3 separate regions of the Homo sapiens genome follow, and all the other regions are linked to region 3. The links are contacts of gene promoters, found by promoter capture Hi-C in blood cells and fetal thymus (Javierre and others, 2016). All regions are on one chromosome and are shown on one strand. Each heading gives the region's core, a stretch centred on a gene start or on the middle of the fragment in contact. The rest is flanking DNA. Distances are from core to core; before and after follow the strand shown.

Region 1 (3,687 bases), core at 610-3,109, 71 kb after region 3:
TAGATGGGACTACAGGCGCACACCACCATGCCCAGCTAATTTTTGTATTTTTGGTAGAGACGGGGTTTCACTATGTTGGCCAGGCTGGTCTTGAACTCCTGACCTCGTGATCCGCCCGTCTCAGCCTCCCAAAGTGCTGGGATTATAGAAGTGAGCTACCGTGCCTGGCCTCATTCTTTTTTTAATGGCTGAATAGTATTCCATTGTGCATATGTACCACATTTTATATATCCATTCATTCACTGATGGACACTTAGGTTGATTTCATATCTCAGCTATTGTGAATAGTGCTGCAGCAAATATAGGGGTGCAGATATACCTTTGATATACTGGTTTTCTAAATATTCAATGGGATTGCTGGATTGTGTGATAGTTCTATTTTTAGTTTTTTGAAATACTTCCATATCGTTTTCCAAAATGGCTGTACTAATTTGCATTCCTACCAATAGTATATAAGTTCCTATTTCTCTGCATTCTTGCCAGCATTTGTTATTTTTTGTCTTTGTTTTTTTAGAGATGGGGTGTTACTATGTTGCCCAGACAGGTCTTTATCCTGGGCTCAAGCAATCCTCTTGCCTCAGCCTCCCAAAGTGCTGCGATTACAAGCAGTGCCACCATTCCCAGCTTATTTCTTACCTTTTTGACAAGAGGCATTCTAACTGGGGTTTTGATTTGCATTTCCCTGATGATTACTAATATTGAGCATGGGATTTTTTTTTCCTTTCTTGCCGTTGAGTTGTTTGAGTTCCTTATATATTCCTTATGTTAGCCCCTTGTTGGATGAATAGTTTGCAAATATTTTCTCCCATTCTACAGATTGTCTCTTCACTTTGTTGATTGTTTCTTTTGCTGTGCAGAAAGCTTTTAGTTTAACATAGTCCTATTTGCCTGTTTTTGTTGCCTTCGCTTTTGAAGTCTTAGCCATAAAAATATTTGCCTAGACCAATGTCCTATAGCGTTCCTTGATGCTTTCTAGTTGTTTTATATAGTTTCAGTTCTTAGGTTTAAGTCTCTAATCCATTTTGAGTTGATCTTTTTAGATGGTGAGAGATAGAGGTCTGTTTTCACTTTTCTACATATGAATATTCAGTTTTCCTAGCACAATTTCTTGAAGAGGATGTCCTTTCCCCAATATATGTTCTTGGCATTTTTGTTGAAGACTTTGTCAATTGCCTGCAAATATGTGGATTTATTTCTGGGTTCTCTAGTTCTGTTCCATTGGTCTGTGTGTGTCTGTTTTTATACAAATACCATGCTGTTTTGATTCCAATGGTTTTGAATACTTTTGTATTTCATCGGGCTCTAATTTTTTTTCTGGCAAGTGGACGTTCAAATGTTGAACCCTAAGAGGACTTAGGGCCTCAGCAAATTTCCCTGTTTCAACAAATGGTTTAGAATTATAGGTGGTGGAGTGACTTTTACAAGATGGTATTAAAGGTAGAGAATTTGCAGAAACCCTGTATCAGTCTTGTTTGTAAGCCCTCAGCTGTAACACAGTTACTAGAAGGGGGAATATATGCTCTGTGGAAGAAAGTTGAAACACCTCTTTTGGGCAGCCACCTTCACATTTAGTTAAGGGAAAGGAAACAAGCCTGTAGTTTAACATTGCTCACAGGGTGAATCTGTGCAAATCCAAAACTAGTAAGTAGAGTAATAATTTTTTGTGTTACTAATTACAAATTGGCAATATTATTTCTTTAATTTTATCGAGCTCATTAGTCAGATATTATTGTTGTTTTTGTTACCATGACTTGATTAGAGCTGCTTAGCTGGTAAGTGTAGGATTAGATTTTGAACCAGGTCACAATGCTTCTGACTCCAAAAGCTATACATGGCTTTATAAAAGGGAGCTGTGACTGTGTATTAGAAACCTATGATATACCAGGCTTTATGATAGATACTTGGCCATTTAATTATCACAGCAGTCCTGTGAGGTAGTTCGTAGTATCCTAATTGATAACTATTTATATAGCTTGAGAGAGAGATGCAGATTTGAATCCACCCCAATCTGTAATTGAGGCCTCATGTCCTTTTACTGTATCATACTGTCTCCCATTTCTCCCATTTGCCATGAACTTCTCACCTCAGGTCTTGGGTCCCTTAGTTGTTTTTCCTGTCTGGAACTTTTTACCAATTGTGCCAAAATGGTAGGAAGATTCTTTCAGTATCTCTAGTAACTTAGGTTCTTGTCACATTCTTAACTAATTAGAAAAAGGACCAAGTAGAATTTGGGAAAAGGGTGGTATTTTGTATCAGACATATATTCTCAGTTTTCATTGTCCTTGAACATCTCAAAGCAGATTTGAAAAATCAGTTCATAGGAGTTTTGAGATGAGTGGGCACAACAGTGTTAGAAAACAAGGTGGAGAAGTGAAAGTAATTGAAGGGTTTGTTCACAGAGTGCTTTTCATAATTTGGTGCTGTCTCTTCTTTTAGTTGCAGAACTGCTTTATTCACTGCAGTGGTGTGAAGAATTAGATAACCCACCTATTTTTCTAATTGGATTTTGTGAAATACTTCAAAAAATGAATATTACGTATGATAACTTACGTGTACTTGGTAATACGTCGGGCCTTTTGCAGCTGTTATTTAACAGGTAAGAATCTCTTTCAATTTGTTTTTAAAATGACTATGCTACTTCTTTATGGCTTTGCCTTCTGTAAGAGGTAACCCTACTGCATGCTAATGTTTCAGTCAGAGGATTGATCTAAATAATTCCTATTCTTAATAATAAATAGTTTATGAATTCTAAATACTTGATTTAACCTTCTCAGGGGAAGATATTTGTATTCTGCCTGTCTTATTAAATCCATAAATACATACAAGGGTCAGATGACAAAAAAGAAGTAGAAGCTTGTAGAAGTTGTTTTGATTTATCTGTGACTCATCCTCCCAGTGCTCTCAGATTCATCCTTTATCTTACATGTTGTTATAGGTGTGTCTTAATGTTATGACCACAAAGCCCTCTCCCCTAGATTAGGAAGGCAGGTATGAAAACAGTCCTTGTAGAGGTTGTAGTAGTAAGATGTTTAGCTTTTTGAAATTACTGTATTGAACTGCTTTCTTTTTAGGAGTTTATCACTTGCCGATAGTATTTTGAGTATGCTTTGCTGTATCAGAGGACCCAGGCTTCCTTTCCAATCGCATTCTACTTAGTTGACACAACTTTCCTCAGAACCAAAGAACCTCTTTGATTGTTCAACTTAAGCCTGCCTAGGTGTCCTCTGGGAGATGTCTTTTTCCCAGCTACAGCCTCTGGTCTTCAAGCCTAATCTCTAAGATCATCTCCCCTATTGGGACTGAAGAGACTGTGGAGTTGCCTAGGGATGAGAGAGCTCAATACCAGCCTTGAAGGAGTGTTGAAAGCCGAAACTCTCAGCTCTTTGGATAATTACTGGCAGTTGCTTGGGTGCAAAGTCTTAGGTGAATTGATGCCATCACAAGGTGCTTTATTTAATTCTGTAAAAGGAATCCAGCTAGCCAGTGTTTAAACATTTTATTCAGTATGCTTTCAAAACGGAATATAATTTTTTTCTTTCCTTTTTCAGGTCCAGAGAACATGGCACACTGTGGTCTCTTATTATTGCTAAGTTGATCCTTTCCCGAAGCATTTCATCTGATGAAGTAAAACCACATTATAAGAGAAAAGAAAGGTATTCTTATTTAAAATGTTTTTACTTTGTAGTT
Region 2 (3,744 bases), core at 1,245-3,744, 87 kb after region 3:
AAGACCTTGTCCAAGAAGAAACTGGAAAGATCTCTCTAGTTTTTCTGTTAGAAGGATCCCCACTTGAAGATAGTTTGAGCCGGGGAAGTGGAGGTTGCAGTGAGCTGAGATCATGCCACTGCACTCAAGCCTGGGCGACAGAGCCAGACCCTGTCTCAAAAAGAACAAGGAAGATCCAAATCTCTGTCAATCTTTGATTGAATTAGCCTAATAAAATATGTGCCTTCTTTTGACAGGTCAATACAAAAAGATTTAGTTTATCATTTAGTGTGATTAAGTATTCATGGCATTCATTTCCAATGTGACTTTTTGGAATTTTTAAATTATAATTTATGTTGTTGCTCATACCCTATACCCTGGTACAAAGATATCAATTTTTGCATCTTTGCATTTGTATATCTGTGGGGAAAAGTCAAATCACAGAAGCAGCATTGATCTAGCTGTTAAATAGATTAGTTTTCTCTTTAGGCCTGTCACTTATTTTTGTGACTTAAGCTAGTTTTATTTGCTGATGATATATTTCAAGAGCTCCTTATTTGGCTTTTACATCAATTTCTTAAAATATTGTTGATCTTTAAAAAATAGCAGCAGATTGAGGCATTTGTGTATAAGAGTTTTGTTCTCATTTTATATTCAGAAATTAGGAAAATGGCCATGTGTCACCTTTTTCATTAAGCTGGGATTGGGTTAGGGTGCAAAATTATACGGCAGCATTTATTATTATTGAGTCTGAAACTTGAACTGAGCTGTGGGCAGATAAACCAGAATAACCCACTAAGTAATACTAATTAGATGAATCCTGAAATAAACAGAATTTTTCTTCGGAAAACTTTAAATGTTCCTAAATCATGGGTTAACTTTTTTCTCAAAAAAACTAGCAAATCAGATTGAACTGGAAAAAGTTGTATATGTACATGTGTATGTTTTTGTGTCTGTTTTATAAAGCTTTACTGAGATATTGCACATACCATAAAATTTACCCACTTAGCATACACAGTTTGGTGTTTTTAGTATATAGTCATCCCTTGATATCTGCTGGGGATTGTTTCCAGGCTCCCTCCCATGACCCCCACCCCAGCGAATACTCAAGTTCCTTATATAAAATGGCATATAGTATCTGCATCTAACCTATGCACATCTTCCTGTATACTACTTAAAATCATCTCTAGATTAGTTATCACTGATACAGTGTAAATGCTATTGAAATAGTTGCTATACTGTATTAAAGTTTTTAGTATTTTTATTGTTGTATTGGTTTTTTTAAATCACTTTTTTTGCCCCTCAAATGTTTTCAATCTGCGATTGGTTGAATTCTCAGATGTGGAACCCATGGAAGTGGAGGGCTGACTGTATTCACAGAGTTGTGCAACTGTTAACCACTATATAATTTTAGAACCTTTTCAACATCCCATTGTAATTGATAGCAATCACTTCCCATTTCCTCTCAAACCCCGCAGCTCCTGACAGCCATTAAACTGTGTTCTGTCTCTATGCATCTGCCTGTTCTGGACATTTCACATATCTGGTCTTTTGTGTCTGGCTTTTATTTTAGTATATTATTTTCAAGATTATCAAATTGAAGCATGTATCATAAGTATTGCATTTATTTTTGTGGCTGAATAATACTCCATTTTGTAGATCTATCACATTTTGTTTATCTATCTGTTTATCCATTAATGGGCATTTAGGTTGTTTCCTTTTTTTTGGCTATTGAAAATAAAGCTGCTGTGAACATTCGTGTACGAGCTTTTGTGTTGAAATATGTTTTCACTTGTGTTGTATACCTTGGAGTGGGATTGCTGGGTCGTATATGTGTGTTTTTAAAAGTCCATTGATATTGGTGATTAATTTTTTAAAAATCTCTAACTTTTTGTTTTGAAAAATTAAACAATGAAGTTGGAAGAATAATTCAATGGAAAATCACATACTCTTTTAGATAAAAAAGTTACATACATCTTTTAACATATTGCTACATTTGCACATACTTTCTCTGTATTTACTTTTTTTCTGCTGATCTACTTGAAAGTAAGTTGCAGATATTTTGATGCTTTACCAAAAGTATTTAAGCATATATCTCCTAAGATCACGGACATGTTTCTACATAAGCATAATATAATTTTTATACTCAAGAAATTTAATTTTGATGCAATAATATCTAATTTTTATTTAGATACTTTCAGTTGTCCCAGTAATATCTCTATAGTTTTATTTTCTTCTCTATTGAAGATCCAATCAAGAATCATGTTTGTATTTGCTTGTCATATTTCTTTAGTTTCTTTAACCTATAATTTCTATACCTTTCTTTTCTTTCTTGTCATTGTTTTGGCCAGCTGTTTTTAGCCTGTCATACAATGTGAATTTGTCTGATCGTTTCCTCATTAGATTGTGGTTAATTTTTAGCAATAGTACTTACTGCACAAGTTGTTATGTGTTCTCAGTGTCTTACCTCAGGAGCCATATAATGTCATTGTGTTCTTTTACAGGTTGAGTATCCCTTATCCAAAATGCCTGGGACCAGTAGTGTTTCTGATTTCAGATTTTTTCAGATTCTGGAATATTTTTGTTACACTTACTGGTTGAGCATCCCAGATCCGAAAATCTGAAATGCTCCAGGAGCATTTCCTTTAAGCATCATGTTGGTGCTCAACAAGTTTTAGATTATGGAGCATTTTGGATTTTGGATTTTCAGATTTGGGATGTTCATCCTTCATTAGTGATGTTAAGTTTGATGATAAGAGCACTTTGGTCAACATATTTTAAAAATCAATTCCAAATCCTATGACTTGATCCTTGTACTTAAGTATTCATAGTGTTCAGAAAATGCTATATTTTACACAAAGAAAGGATAAATGCTTGAGGTGATGAATACCCCACTTACCCTAGTACATATTATATGCCTATAAAATACCTCATATGCCCCATAAATATCTACTGTGTACCCACAAAAATTAAAAATACAAATTTTTTAAAAAGAAAAGGGAAAGAAAATGATATCTTTGTACTGTGAGGAGATATGTGATATAGTAGAAATTATCTTAAAACCAATACAGATACCAAAGAACTGCAAAGTCAATGTGGAAAATGCAAGCTACTTTATGGAGGGAAAGCAGGAGTTGTGAAGTACAGGTCTCACACAGATACCTGCAGTGCTCCCACTGGTGGCTCGTTTTTCTGTTTTTAAAAGAGAAATCAGAAATCCATATTTTTATGTGAAATTTCCTGATTGAAAAAACAACTCTGAGAAGACCCCCATGACATTTTGGACCACTAGTTTGTGCTCTCTGTCGTAAAGGGATGTCGGAGTTTTTGATACAGGGTGAGGTCAGCCATAAAAATGGGATTAGTTTTAAGCAGGAATTTGAAAGGTTAAGGGCAATGGTGTGGAAGGAATGTATGGAAGACTTGGGAGGAGAGTGAGGGAGTCATCTGTGGGAATGGTGAATAGATTTTCTTGTCTCAGACATTCTAAGCCAAGGTGAGTGCATTGTAATACAGGAAGACAATTTGAGAAAGATATTAGAAATGTGTTACAATAATGAGGGGATAGAATGTCTGCTAGTTTATGAGGAAAGGAAATTTGTTACACTTTGAGTTGTTCTTTTATACCAATTGTCTTGGTGTATTTGGTTTACTAACAAATTCTTTGCTCTCCACCAGCTTCGGGCTTTGTATTCCATGTATCTTCGGAAAACAAAGAGTTTGAATAAATTGCTCTATCACCTGTTCAGGCTTATGCCAGAAAAT
Region 3 (3,581 bases), core at 164-2,663:
ATCTTGGAAGCTCTCCATTTCAAGGAAGCCTTAGACAATCATTCTACTCTAAATAAACCTCTCCACTGAACTTCCCCAGTATTTATGGTATGCTCTAGTCATCTTGTCCCCTTATCCCATATTCTAGTGAATTTCTTAAATCTTTAATCTGGGTTTATGTTATTTCTGTAAGCAGAATCTAAAGTTCTTAGAAAAATAAATGGTTTCAAGCACAGTTTTGGAACTGCCTATAATATCTAGCATAATGTTAGTACATAGCAGGTCCTGAAGAAATACTTCTTGCATTGAAATAGAAAAATAGAATAGTACCTGAGGCATAAAGGATGATTACAAGGTGCAAAGGTAGGTACATAAGAATGAAGCAAACAAGTTCTGGTGAAAAAGAAAAGGGTGAAAAATGAGAAGTCAGAAGTCTGCAGTAGTGAAGACAGCACTAGTAAATCTGGTTTGAGGATTGCAGCAGCTTAGACTCCATAGGAAAACTTGAAAGACGAATTGTTAATTACTGCAGGCAGAGGACAGAGGGGTCACTCCAGTGCTGCGGAAAGAGCCTCAGTAAAGTTCTGACAACTATAAAGGCAACTAATGAGTCATGAGGAGAGCATATTGTGACTTCCATCAGCTATAAAACATCAATAAACTTAATACACTTTTCAAGTAGTGTCATCGGATGAGCATTAACGTCTTAGTGAAATGACTCTTCGCAGGACTCCATACAAAATCTAAATCAAAGATAGTCTTGCCGGTTCTCATATTATTCCAAGTCTCTTCACTCTCTGCCCTCCCAGTCTTCCCCTGCCTACTCGGTTCCATTAAAAATGTAAGCGTGTGGAAAACTTTGTCAGCAGGTGTTAACGTGGCTTTCAAGTTTTGCGTATATCAATCCCCTCCTAGATATAGTCAATTGGATAAGTGACAGATCCTGCTTTTCCTACCAGCCGTATGAACACGGCTGCAAATCCAGCTCCAACCCATAGGGAAGTCCCTGCCACGCGCCACCCACCCATTTGCTCGGCGCCTGCCACACCTTCCCTCTCCTCCCCTTCTAACTGCTCCGATCCCACGGGGGAACCTCTGGGTCCACGGGGTCGAGAAGGCCGCCAGCAGCGGCATCTCATTGGCCAGCTTCTGGAACTGACAGAACATGCAGCCAATGAGATCGCAGTACCGGAAAGTAGCCGGGTTACGTGCTTAAGGAGAGCGGCCTTCAAGAAGAGAACGAAGTTGGGGCGGAAAACAGGAGCTCTCCCAGCGCAGAAAGCCAGGCGAGCGACGACTGCCAGGCAGTGGGACCAGAACTCACCCACGGCGACAGAGCCCATAACTGCATCCCCTCATGGGCCTTTGGGCTGGGCAGCCAGCTCCGTCTTCCTCCTGGTGACGAATTGAGAGCGACGGAGTCGAAGCCAGAGTGACCCCTGGAAAGCAATAACTTCCGGAACGCGGCATTATGGGAAGTGGCTAGGCCACCACCACCCCACCCCCACCTCCCGGGACCATCGGCTCTGACGCTAGTAAATCTGCGCCTGCGTGCGGCTTGCGCCGGATGTTCGGGTTTAGGGGTTTGGTTGTCAATGGGTTTTCTCGTCTCTGACATAACCACGAAGTTATATAAATGCTCCTGAAGTGTGGGCATCCGGTGGTGGTCTGAGCCTTGGAGTTTCCTAGATGGTTACCTTTCTGGAACACATTATATTTGGAGCTAAAAGGGGGAACGCTTAAATTTGTTTCCGTAATTCTGTCCTGTCGACTTCTAAAACTGAGTACCTAAGTTGTCTTGAATTTACCTTCCTGCACCATGTCAGAATAAAAAACGCAGCGAGTGATTTTTTGTTTGTTTGAGACGGAATATCCCTCTGTCGCCCAGGCTGGAGTGCATTCTTCTGCCTCAGCCTCCCGAGTAGCTGGGACTACAGGCGCACGGCACCACGCCCAGCTAAAATTTTTGTATTTTTAGTAGAGACGGGGTTTCACCAATTGGCCAGGCTGGTCTCCAACTCCTGACCTTGTGATGCGCCCGCCTCGGCCTCCCAACGTGCTGGGATTACAGGCGTGAGCCACCGCGCCCGGCCGCGAGAGTGAATTTTTAAAGCAAAACCGAAAGACGGTGTCAGATAAATTGCGGGGGAGGAGGGGATTTTCAAATATTTACTGTCCATTCTTTGAAAATTTGTAAGTGCGAGCCCTGGCGCGGTGGCTCACCCCTGTAATCCCAACACTGGGAGGCCGAGGCGGGTGGATCACGTGAGGTCAGGAGTTCGAGACCAGCCTGGCCAACGTGGTGAAATCCCGTCTCTACTAAAAATACAAAAAATTAGTCGGTCGTGGTGGCGGGCGCCTGTAATCCCAGCTATTCGGGAGGCTAAGGGGGAGAATCGCTTGAAGTCTGGAGGCAGAGGTTGCAATGAGCCAAGATCACTCCATTGCACTCCAGCCTGGGCAACAAGAGCAAAACTCCCTCTCAAAAAGAAAAAAAGAAAATATGTAAGTGCACACTTTGTGCCAAGCCTTTCCTCAAATGAATTAAACATAGGCCTCTCTGCCCTGGAGTCTTAGTTTAGTAGAGAAGATAGTAATCGCTACCGTGGGGGTCGGGGGAGTTGCAGATAGCTATAGAAAAATAGATATGTAAACAGGTAATTCACCATAAAAGAACAATTGGTCATAAAATAAATGTCCATCCTTACTAATCAGATAAAAGGAGTTTAAGATGGTGGCATACTAACCACCAGAGTAACATTTGGTTAAATTTGGGGGAAAACTAGCTCTCTTGCTTTTTACTGCTGAGATAATTTTTGTTTTATTTACTTATTTATTTATTTATTGAGACCGGGTTGCACTCTGTTACCCAGGCTGGAGTGCAGTGGCACGACCTCAGCTCACTGCAACCTCCACCTCCCGATTCTCCCACCTCACCCTCCCCAGTGGCTGGGATTATAGGCACGTGCCACCCCACCACACAGCTAACTTTTGTATTTTTTTGGTAGAGGCAGGGTTTCAGCATATTGGCCAGGCTGGTCTTGAACTCCTGGCCTCAAGTGATCCACCTGCCTCGGCCTCCCAAAATGCTGGATTACAGGCATAAGCCACCGGACCCGGCTTAGTTTCATCTTTCTCTGTATTCTGACAACATTATGACATTACAGTCCAAGAGATATTGGGCTGGTCCTTGTTTGGTCTCTGGTGATTTAGATGAGGCAGGACTGAGCCCCCACGAATGTATTATCTCAAAAAGTTAGTAGCAGCTACTGTGCAAAGTTCGAAGGCCCAAGTCAAATCCTGGGCATATCCACGGATGTGTGGTAGGGCATAGGCTCCAGCTCTCATGCAAAAAAGAACAGGAGTGGGATGAGATAATTTTTTAAAGCTTTCTTCTCCAAGCTCCAGAAATGCAGGCTTTTTGCCCCCACGCATTTTAAAACAGAGCCTTAGGGTCATTGTACCACGTGCTTCCTGTCAGAAAGCCTCTTCCCCCTGATCTTCCGGGGTTGGTATCTTATTGTCATTCTGTTCACACCTTATTTTTAATTTATTTATTTTAGAGACAGGGTCTGGCTTTGTAGCCCAGGCTGAAGTGCAGT

Evidence for each region. Contacts are between HindIII fragments. The CHiCAGO score rates a contact against its expected background, and 5 or more counts as called.
Region 1: a contact is called between a fragment that was not itself captured here and the fragment with the promoter of USP16 in region 3, in 2 of 17 cell types (activated CD4 T cells and total CD8 T cells). The highest score is 6.5, in activated CD4 T cells.
Region 2: a contact is called between a fragment that was not itself captured here and the fragment with the promoter of USP16 in region 3, in 2 of 17 cell types (fetal thymus and total CD8 T cells). The highest score is 5.3, in fetal thymus.

What each region holds. Positions count from the first base shown.
Region 1 is chr21:28,952,126-28,955,812 of GRCh38, reverse strand. LTN1 (listerin E3 ubiquitin protein ligase 1) reads left to right here. Exons shown (of 30, transcript NM_015565.3): 17 at 2,437-2,596; 18 at 3,549-3,653. Among named protein-coding and RNA genes, the nearest start is that of LTN1, 39 kb to the left of the region's middle. The HindIII fragment of the contact is 1,992 bases long and covers 864-2,855 here.
Region 2 is chr21:28,936,611-28,940,354 of GRCh38, reverse strand. It overlaps LTN1 (listerin E3 ubiquitin protein ligase 1), which reads left to right. Exons shown (of 30, transcript NM_015565.3): 26 at 3,658-3,744. Among named protein-coding and RNA genes, the nearest start is that of HEMK2, 53 kb to the right of the region's middle. The HindIII fragment of the contact is 3,093 bases long and covers 948-3,744 here.
Region 3 is chr21:29,022,500-29,026,080 of GRCh38, reverse strand. It overlaps USP16 (ubiquitin specific peptidase 16), which reads right to left and starts at 1,413. Exons shown (of 18, transcript NM_006447.3): 1 at 1,304-1,413. RefSeq lists an enhancer at 1,148-1,537. The HindIII fragment of the contact is 4,939 bases long and covers 1-3,369 here.